2 separate regions of the Homo sapiens genome follow, and region 2 is linked to region 1. The links are contacts of gene promoters, found by promoter capture Hi-C in human tissues and cell types (Jung and others, 2019). All regions are on one chromosome and are shown on one strand. Each heading gives the region's core, a stretch centred on a gene start or on the middle of the fragment in contact. The rest is flanking DNA. Distances are from core to core; before and after follow the strand shown. Region 1 holds the start of SMUG1 (single-strand-selective monofunctional uracil-DNA glycosylase 1). Region 2 overlaps FLJ12825 (a long non-coding RNA gene).

Region 1 (5,468 bases), core at 1,011-3,510:
CTCACTGTGGGCTGCCTAAGCCTCAGTTTCTCCTTATATCTGGACTTCCTATCTCTGGGTTCCCTGGGGTGGATGGGCTTATAGGGACAGAAACAGTTATTCAAGTCTTCTAGGAAATTGAAATCAGGGGTGGGGAGGTGGAGGTCCTGGGGGATCTCTGCTTGCCTGTTACTCATTTCACTCATTATTGTTCTGCCAGAAGCAGACTTTGAATGTGGAGGGGCTGCCAAGATGACAAACTAGAACAGAAGTGCTGGGCAAGCAAGTGACAGAGGGGTCGGGGTGGACAGGAGGGTTGTCCAAGGGATGGTGGAAATCCTGGAATTTTTAAGCAATGAGATGACACCACAATGAGGTCCCTTCACCTTATTTTTGGTCAGAAACACAGAAATACATAGACACACAGAGATGGGGGAACTTGTTCTAGAAGCTCAGATTCTCTTATTCCAGTCATTCTAGGGTAAGAAGCAGAAACAGGGAGATGTTCACAGAGGGAGACAGAGACCTGCAGATACAGAGAGAAAGCTACACAAGAGACTAGAAATAGAGATAAATTTACATAAGTAGAGAGGGGCAAATAACATAGGCAGAGAGAGACACAGAGAGGGAGAGGATCTGGTAAAAATTAAAGCTCAGGAAATTATGGGCTTCATGAGGTGGATGATTAATTCCATTTCCAAAGTCTTGCAAGGGTCAGGGTAGTTTCTCACCCTTGATGTCAGCAGGTCACTGCTCACAGCTCCCTGAAGCTCCTACTGCACCCATTAAGTTTTTGTTGATAGGAGATCAGACAAGTCCTGGGAAGGGAATAGCATCCTTTTTCTCTCACTTCTTCCTGTTCTGGGGTTTATAGGTCTCCTTTTCTACCACTCACAGGGAGACCTTGCTTCTGTGATTAGAGCCTTGGCTGTGCTAAGGTGTGTGGAGATTGTGGGGTGGGAGGAATATAGAAGATAACTAACCTTAGGGGGTTCCCAGTCTAATGAAAGTTTTAGAGTCACGACACAGAACCAGACCCAGATAGAGCACAAGAACAAAACTAGGAATAGGACAGATTTGGACATAGATATTGGGATGGGGGAATGGTGGGGGAATGGACTGTTAGGTGCAGCCATGGGATGAGGATTGATCAGGGAAGCCTTCCTGGACAAAGTATTTGAGGGAGAAGATTTGGATGGAAGAGTGATAGCTAACTTTATGTGTCTACTTGAGTGGTCTAAGGGACACCCAGATAGCTGGTAAAACATTATTTCTGGATATGTCTGTGGAGTGTTTCTGGAAGAGATTTGCATTTGAATTGGTAGACTAAGAAGATCACCCTCATTAATATGGGTGGGAACCATCCAATCCCTTGGGGGCCAGTAGAACAAAAGAGTGGAGGAAGGCAAATTCTCTTTCTTCATGAGCTGGGACATCTATTTTACCTGCCTTTGGACATCATTGGAGTTCCTGGTTCTTCGTCCTTCAGGCTCTGGGACTTAGCAGTGAGCCTCCTCCCCTGCTTTGGACTTTCCTGAATTATACCACCTGTTTTCCTGGTTCTCCAGTGTATAGACAGCAGAGCGGGAGACTGTGGGACTTCTTGGCCTCCACAATCCTGTGAGCCAATTCTTGGAATAAATCTCGTCATATAGATAGATATCCTGTTAGTTCTGTTCTCTGGAAAACTCTTGACTAATACTGAGGTTATAGGGTTGGGCAGATAGCAAGGCAGAGAAAGAAGTCAAAATGGTGACACTCTGGAGATGGGCTTGGACAGTAATGGGGGATGCCCCTTGCTAAAAAGTTGTTAGGAGCTACCAGAAATGTCTTCGTGGATGTTCTGTATAAGTAATGGCAGGCTGCAAAGGAGAAGTCTCTTATACCCACGGTGGCAGGGGGCCTAGCAATGGTCTTTAGCTATTGTTAATACCTTCAGGTGGGTGAGGGATTGGGGATGGTTGAAGCTTCCTGATTTGCAATCCCTTTGGGAAAATAGTGAATGAACTTTTGGAAGGGCGATGCCCTTTAGGGATAGAACCCAGGATTTCCTAGGTACTTACAGGCTGTGGCTTTTCACTTCTCAAGACTTCCTGATTTAACGCTGATGGAAAGATTAAACTACAATTCCCAGCGATCTTTAGGGCTAATTTAGTGCGCCTTCCGGGATTGGAGCATTTCCGGCGGAAGTGGCTGCGGGTACGCCAATCTCCTTCCCTAAACAATGTAGACTACGACTCCCACTGTCCTTAGCGCCGGGGGTTGGGTTTGGGGTGGGGGAAAGGAACCGGAAACGGGATGGGGAGCTGGACCAGGTGAGGAAGTAGGGGGCTGGGAATCCGGGACTGTGGGGGCAAGTTGACGGCTCCCAGGGTCGTCGGGGCTGAGCCGAGAGGGTGGTTAGAATTTCTATATTTTGGGGTCCCTCCCTCCGTATGGGGTAAGACTCAGTGCAGGGAGAGCCCAGCCTATGAAACCGCCTGGGAGGTCTGCAGGATCAAGGCTTTCCAGTCGGCCGGAGCCAGCGGGCGCCCCCGGAGGTTTTGTATGGTGCCTTAGTAGTCGGCCCCTTTGGAACCAGATGAAATGGTCTTTTTGAGTTTATGCTTTATTATTATTATTGTTTATTTATTTATTTTTCTGAGACGGAATTTTGCTCTGAATTCCAGGCTGGAGTGCAATGGCGCGATCTCAGCTCACTGCAGCCTCCGCCTCCCGGGTTCAAGCGATTCTTCTGCCTCAGCCTCCCGAGTAGGTGGGATTACAGGCGCGCGCCACCATGCCCAGCTAATTTTTGTATTTAGTAGAGACTGGGTTTCACCATGTTGGTCAGGCTGGTCTCGAAGTCCTGACCTCGTGATCCGCCCGCCTCGGCCTCCCAAAGTGCTCGGATTACGGGTGTGAGCCACCGCGCCCGGCCTATGCATTATTATTATTATTATTATTATTATTATTATTATTATTATTATTTATTATTATTATTATTATTATTATTATTTCGTTTAAGGATATTTATTATTGTCCCTGGACTCCCGGAGTGCCTCCAAAGGACAGGGGAGTGCATATGTGATTTCGATTCCTTCCTCACTTCCCGGATTTGATGTCAGAGAAGTCTGACATCAGTCTGAAGTCGGCCCTTGGTGGTCAGCCTTATCGCTTGGTCCAACTCCGCTGTCTTTGTGCTTAATGTAGTATGACACCGTATTTTATAAAATATCTACATTTCTTAAGCCTCTGGCTCTTGGGGCGACTTTGGGTAGAACTTACAAGTTCCTCCTTTGGGTTCTCTTAGTGTTTTGTTCCGGGTATTAAAGCTCACATCACACTGTATTACAGTTAGTTGTTTATTTGCCCTCACAGCAGATTATGAGCTTACAGAAAGCCTGGCCTACATTTTACTCTTTTTGGATTTCTTCCTCATCAAGAGACTGCTGCAGTGCCTGTCATGTAAGAGACTCATAAGTATTGAAAAAAAAAATGAGTTAACAGGTGGTAGGTTGGATGGAGTATGTGATTTTCCATAGAGAAGAGAGTTAAATGAGTTGCTCAAGAGAACCTTCTTAGAGATGAAACAGGAGTAGAATTCAAATCAATTGACTTCCAGCCTGTGGCTCTTGCTATGAGATCAGGCTTTGAAGTTATGGAACAATGAAAGTAGTATCTTGCCACTCTTTTCCCCAGCCTTGCTGTTTCCAACACAGGTGTCTAAATGTCAAAGGTGGGCTCAAGACTTCTCGAGATTCTAGAGCTGGAGCAGCCAATCTGCTAATGTTGGTGTTGCATGGGGAGATGCAAAGCAAGGTCCCCTGAAACACTGGCGTTCTCCACAGCACCCTTCTCAGCTTTTGTATGAGCCCAGTTTGTCCTGGGTAGCCACCTGGACAACAGATCAGTTAAAGACTACTGAGACAGTCAGGGAAGGACTTCCTAAGTTGGGCCTCTGATTTCTTTTCTCTCCCACTTCCCCTAGGCTAGGGTGAGAAAATAGGTTTATCGAGCTGTTGTGTCAACCTTGAGTTCTTATCTTGGAGAAGTCACTCCTGACCCAGGCAGAAAGTTGAGAGGAAGGAATGACAATGGTCCTTGTCGCATGGGAGGCACACATATGATGGGCACAGACCCAGAGTCTGGAAAACAAGCAGAGTGCAAAGTGGGCAGCTAAGCCTTGAGTGAACTCAGGATATAGAAGTGGAGAAGGATCCATCAGGAGTGCCTCCTTGGTAAAAGCTGTTTATTTTATTTTTATATTTACAGATGGGGTCTCATTATGTCAGCCAGGCTGGTCTTGAACTCCTGGCCTCAAGCAATTCTTCTGCCTTGGCCTCTCAAAGTGCTGGGATTACAGGCATGAGCCACTGTGCCCAGCACAGAAGGTAGTTTTAAACAAAAGTGAAAAAGAAGATGGACATTGCTGAGCAGGTGTTTGTTGAGTACCTAATAAGGGCCAGGACCTTGGGCTTATGGAGGGAGATTGAACAAGGCCTGGCTCTTGATCTGCCCAAGTTTAGCTGGGGAGGCAAAAGGAATTCATTAAGACGACGGTAACCATGGTGACACACAGTGGTTCTCAGCCTTCACCAACCATCAGAATCACCCTGGGAAGCTTGTTTAAAATACAGATTCCCAGGCTGGGCACGGTAGCTCACGTTTGTAATCCCAGCACTTTGGGAGGCTGAGGCAGGCAGATCATGAGGTCAGGAGTTCGAGACCAGCCTGACCAACATGGTGAAACCCTGTCTCTACTGAAAATACGAAAATTAGCCGGGTGTGGTGCTGCGCACCTGTAATCCCAGTACCCAGGAGGCTAAGGTGGGAGAATCACTTGAACCCGGGAGGCAGAGGTTGCAGTGAGCTGAGATCGCGCCACTGCACTCCAGTCTGGGCGACAGAGCAAGATTCTGTCTCAAAAAAAAAACAAAACAAAACAAAACAAAAAACACAGATTCCCAGGCCTCACACGGGACCTACTTGTGTTGGGGGTGGGGTTGGGACACTATGGCAAATACTGCAGTGTTCTGAGGAGGGAAGACTTTATCAAAGGGATGGTTTGAGCTGCATTTTGAAGGATGGGAGTGATTTGGATATGTGGACAGGTTGGGGAATCAACAGTCCTAGTTGACTGGATGACTGCTGGATGATGTCCTGGTTGACTTCAGGAGTGTATTTGGTTGGACTGTAGAAATGGTATGTGCAAGGTTTTGGGAGTTGAGGCAGGAAAGGCATTTTGAAAATGTGAGTAGAATGGTCAGGTTGGAACACTGGGTTTGAATGGGAGTGGAGTGAAGCAATGGCCTTTGCAGTTTACAAAGCTTGCTGTCATGTTCCTGCCCCCTCCCTTCTCCTTCCTCCCACCTCCCTTCTCTCTTCCCTTTCTTCTTCCTCTCCCATTTCTTTTCTCCCTTCACCTAAACATAACATCTCATTCCATCCTTACGTCTGTTTGTTTGTTTTGAGACAGTCTCCCTCTGTAGCCCAGGCTGGAGTGCAGT
Region 2 (4,912 bases), core at 1,508-4,007, 82 kb after region 1:
CTCTGCGTGGTGGGAGCATCTCGGAAGCAAGGCAAGGCAAGCCAAGGAGATCCCTTGTTCCTGACCTCCGGCAATCCATTTATTTGACCTGAGTCTCATAAAGGCGTCCTGATGAGCCCAATCGCTTGCTAATGGTTATGAGCTGAGACCTGGGGATTTATGGCTGAGGCCTCCGTGGCCACGAACAGGAGTAGGGCTGCGCACAGGAGGCCAGGCTGTGCATGGCTTCAGTTCATGGAGGCCTGTACCCAGAACCACGGCGGGGACTACCACACCGCCACCTCCAAATCTGGGGCAAAGAACATTGCCCTGGGTGGGGGAAGCTGGGCTAAGGAGAAAAAAGACCTCTGGCTGGAGATGTCCAGGGATGAAGGGTGAGTGTCTGGGAAACTGGCCTGACTTGGCTGGGTGGGGTGTAGGGGGAGATACTGGAGAAGTGAGTGGAAAGGGCACTGGAATTGGAGCCAGTCAAACTGGGGTTCAAATCCTGGATCTGTTTTCCACCCGTGTATGACACTGGACAAATCATGGCTCTCCCTGAGCCTCATTTTTCTCATCTGTAGATGGGAATTGTGACGCTATCTCATAGGTTTGTGAGAATTAAATGAGGCCAGGTACGGTGGCTCATGCCTGTAATCTCAGCACTCTGGGAGGCCAAGGTAGGAGGATTTCTTGAGCCCAGGAGTTCAAGACCAGCCTGGGCAACATGCCGAAACCCTGTCTCTACAAAAATACAAAAATTAGCCAGGTGTGGTGGCATGTGCCTGAGGCTGATGTGGGAGCATTGCTTGAGCCCAGGAGCTTGAGACTGCAGTGGGCCATGATCATGTCACTGCACTCCAGCCTGGGTGACAGAGTGAGATCCTATCGAGAGAGAGAGAATTAAATGAGATAATGTTTGTGAAAAGCATTTCGAATACCAATTGTATATATTTAAGTGGGTCAAGAGATTGGGATTCTAATTCCAGCTCCACCACTAACTTGCTGGGATTCTAGCACTGGTTTTGTTAGCAATGGCTTTTTTTTTTTTTTTTTTTTTTTCCTGAGACAGGGTCGCACTCTGTCGCCCAGACTGGAGTGCAGTGGTGTGATCTCAGCTCGCTGCAACCTCTGCCTCCCAGGCTCAAGCAATTCCCCTGCCTCAGCCTCCTGAGTAGCTGGGATTACAGGCATGCTCCACTACTGCCCGCTAATTTTTATATTTTTAGTAGAGACAGGGTTTCGCCATGTTGGCCAGGCTGGTCTCGAACTCCTGACCTCAAATGATCCACCCATCTTGGCCTCCCAAAGTGCTAGGATTTCAAGCGTGAGCCACCCCGCCCGCCCAGTTACCAATGGCTTTGTGACCTGGGGCACATCACAGACCCTTTCTAAGTCTTAGTTGCCCCACAGATACTAAGAGGGGACACAGTGCTCTTTTGGTTGCCTCCAGCTCTGATGTTTTGTGGTTCTAACGAGGAGTCCTTGTTTGGAAATGGAACTTTGGAATGGTTTGGATCTCATTCTGGCCATAGAGAGGGCATCATTGCAACTGTGGCTTCAGGGCCAATGTGCGGTTAGGGGGGCTGAGTCAGAACAGCCCCCTCTTCCTCGATAGTGCCATCCTGTGAGTACAACCCCTGTATGGGTGTTGGACACAGTGTTGGGGAAGACTGGGCAACAGGGGTAAGTAGGAAAGGCCCTGTAGTAGGAGGTTAGCTGGGTATCCATGGAAATGCCTGAACTACTCATGCCTTTTGCACAAGTAGGTCTTCAAATAATCTCTTCTGCTTCCCTCTTTCCCACTCTTTCCCTGTCTAAGGTGTGTGGTGGTGTGTGTGTGTGTGTGTGTGTGTGTGTGTGTGTGTCTAACCTGATTGGGAGAGTAAGCCAAATGGAGTGAAGTGGAGAAACATCCCCAAAAGTCCCAGGTAGAGACCTAAGGATTCCTAAATCACAGTGCAGAACATGGTCCTCCACCCTTTTCCCATTCTGGGAACATCCTGAAGCCAGTCATTGTGGGAGACAGACATGACCCCCAACCCAGCCTCACAGACCCCACCCCTCTTCCATGCTTTGCCCTACCCTCCTTCCGTGTGCTTGTATCCTAACCTTAAGCCCTAGAGACTTCTAGGTACCCAGAGAACAGCCTATTCAGTGATGTTTACTGAGCGCATGTTATGTGCCTTGCACTGGGCCTGGAGCAAGGGCTAAGGAGTGAAATTAGACCTGATCCCTGTTCTGAAGATGTCACAGCTGAGTAGGCAGAAAGACTTTAAACAGATAATGGCAACACGATGTGCTAAGGAACATCAATGTACAAGATAACAGGTAGTCTGTATTTATGGGAGAGGGAGGCGTAAAAGAAGATGCCTCAGCTGCTTTCTAAACATGTTTGTTGTGGAACATTGAAAACATACGAAAACAGAGCAGTATAGTGTCCTCATCATGCAGCTGCAACAATGGTCACACCAGGATCTTGGTGTGTCTATACTCCCACCCACGTTCCATACCCCACTGCACTTACTTGGGGTGGAACTGGGTTGGTTTTGAAAGAGGAACAGCAGTTCCGCAAGTAGAAAGTGCTGGAGGGAAAAGCTTGCAGGCAGAGGGGATGCCGTGCTCAGAAGCTTGAGCAGTGCCTGATGCTGGTGCACCAAACCGAAGCTGAAGCAGTGGGACAAGATGCTTTGGCCCCCGTTCATGCTGGCCCTAATCCATCTGTCACACAGCGTGCCCTGTGGCTCCTTTTGGAACTCGGGTCTCCAGGCAAGTCGGGTCTCCAGGCACAGCCAGGTTAGCGCAGAGCCAGCCCTTTGAGTGCAGGGAGTGAGGAGGCACCGCTAAGACGGCGGGCCTTGGCTGGGCGTCGGCGGGGCCTTGGTGGGCCTAGAGCGCTAGGGACTGGCACGCACCAGCACTGACGGACAAAGCGGGCGCAGTTAGGCCCTCCACCCCGCGTCGGCACGCGGTCTTAAATATTACCCCGGAGTTTTCAATTATCTCTCCTTAATGGATTTGCAGGGGCTCTTTCATCAAGCGCGGGGTGGCTGGGTGTGGGGGTGCGGAGAGAGCGCGGCGAGGGCTGGAGCTGGGAAAATGGCCCATATTTCAATATTAAAGCCCTTTACGATCGTCAGCAGCATGAAAGATGCTGCAAATAAAACGGAGCCGTCCGCGCCAGCCTCTCCATCTCGCAAGTTTTAATTAACGCTGAGTGGGAGGCGGCTGACGGGCGGGTCGGAGCCGGGCCAGGGGCGGATCTGGGAGCCTGCGGATCCCAGATTCCGAACTGGAGCGGCAGGGATCTCGCGGGCCAGGCCAGGCGGAGGCGGAGGGTGGTGGGCTCCGAGTCCCGGGCGAGGGCGCGGAAGATGCTCGTGGAGATGGGCAAGGCTGAGGGGTGGGGGACAGGGTGGAAGGTCTCTGAGCATCTGACCGGGAAACAAAACTCTGCAACTGAATGCAGAAAGCTTTGTTCTTAAAGGTGAGGGGGCTTGTGGCCAAATCATCGAGCTCTTCATCCCCAGGCTCCTTCAGCGCGCGTCCTTCTGCCTCTCTTCTTTCGACCAACAATTCCCCCAAACGCTCCCCCGCGTTGATTCCCGGTCCCCTCCCACCTCGTCCTGTGGCCCCTTGTTTCGGGAGGCAGGCGTGCTTCTGTGACCCCACGGCTCCTGTTCTGGGACGTCTGCTTTCTCCATCACTCCCTGGCTTCCCGGGCGGGCCCCATCCTCCGGAGCGGAGCGGAGCAGCGCGCACAGAAGCGCCACTGTTCTGCCTTGGCAGGGCCTGGCCCGACAGCTTGTGCCTGCGCAGCAGACGCATCCGTCAGGCGGGAAGGATGGAGCGACGTCCGGCTGCCCGCTCCGAGGACTCCCCAGGGAGACACCTCTGGCCTTGGCCCAGACTCCTCTCTTCCCTTCTCCCCACCCGCCAACCCTTCCCCCAACTACCAGCTCAGTATATACTTCTGTCTCTCCTCCTTTCCTTGCTTCTCCTCCTCCCTCCCATACGCATGCAGCCTGGGGCCTGGGGCCCAGGAGAGCCACTCCTCTCATGGGTCACACTGAGAAGTCCTTCCTCCACTTGCATCCACATGGTAGGGCATAACTCTAAAGCTTAAAAAGATCCAGCGATCTCAGGGGACCACAATCCAAAGCTAAGTCAGCCAACCAACACTCAAGGGCTAAAATCAAGGACTTTGGGCAAGCCCTATAGAGTGGAGGAATTAGAAAAATAATACAAATAAAAGACATGGTCATTATTCCTGGGTATTTACAGATACTTTGTGCTTCCTGAAGTGTTTTGCAGAAATCACATTCTCCTCTCATTGTGCTACACAGCTTGTAAGCACCAAGACAAGAAATTCTATGATAAAGCAAAAAGAAAAGAAAAGAAAAAATCCTCTTCTACTTTCTTCTTCGTGTGTATTTTTTCTTGTCAATTTCTGATAATCTGTCAAGCCTACTTAAAATAGTGCCTGCTTATGCAGTATGGTTAGGATGATGAACACACACTTAAACAGGATAGGGAATAAGTACAAACTACAAGTGCTGTGGGGATGCAGAGTAGTAGGACAAGTGGTGAAAATTAAAACATTTTTGGCTTAATCAAGGAGTACTTCCTGGAGGAGGGGAGACCTGATTTGGAAGGAGAGGTGATATAAACTTGAAAAGAAAGTTCCAGATGTGGAAACACTGGTTTTATTCTTTATTTTTATTTTGAGACAGGATCTTACTCTGTCACCCAGGTTGGAGTGCAGCGGCACGATCTTGGCTCACTGCAACCTCCACTTCCTGGGTTCAAATGATCCTCTGCCTCAGCCTCCTGAGTAGCTGGGACTACAGGCATGTGCCACCACACCCAGCTAATTTTTTTGCTTTTTTTGTAGAGATGGGGTTTTGCCATATTGCTCCAGCTGGTCTTGAAC

Evidence for each region. The method cuts DNA at HindIII sites, captures the fragments that hold promoters and counts their contacts. A contact is called where the count stands out against the background at its distance.
Region 2: a fragment that was not itself captured here is called in contact with the fragment with the promoter of SMUG1 in region 1 in 2 of the 25 tissues and cell types used here (mesendoderm cells and thymus).

The regions. Positions count from the first base shown.
Region 1 is chr12:54,185,777-54,191,244 of GRCh38, reverse strand. SMUG1 (single-strand-selective monofunctional uracil-DNA glycosylase 1) reads left to right here and starts at 2,260. Exons shown (of 4, transcript NM_001243787.2): 1 at 2,260-2,294; 2 at 3,343-3,426. LOC105369777 (a long non-coding RNA gene) reads right to left here and starts at 2,148. Exons shown (of 3, transcript XR_944984.2): 1 at 2,043-2,148; 2 at 711-797. The HindIII fragment of the contact is 7,082 bases long and covers 1-4,935 here.
Region 2 is chr12:54,105,283-54,110,194 of GRCh38, reverse strand. All of the region lies in intron 1 of FLJ12825 (a long non-coding RNA gene), which reads right to left. Among named protein-coding and RNA genes, the nearest start is that of LINC02381, 18 kb to the left of the region's middle. The HindIII fragment of the contact is 5,117 bases long and covers 199-4,912 here.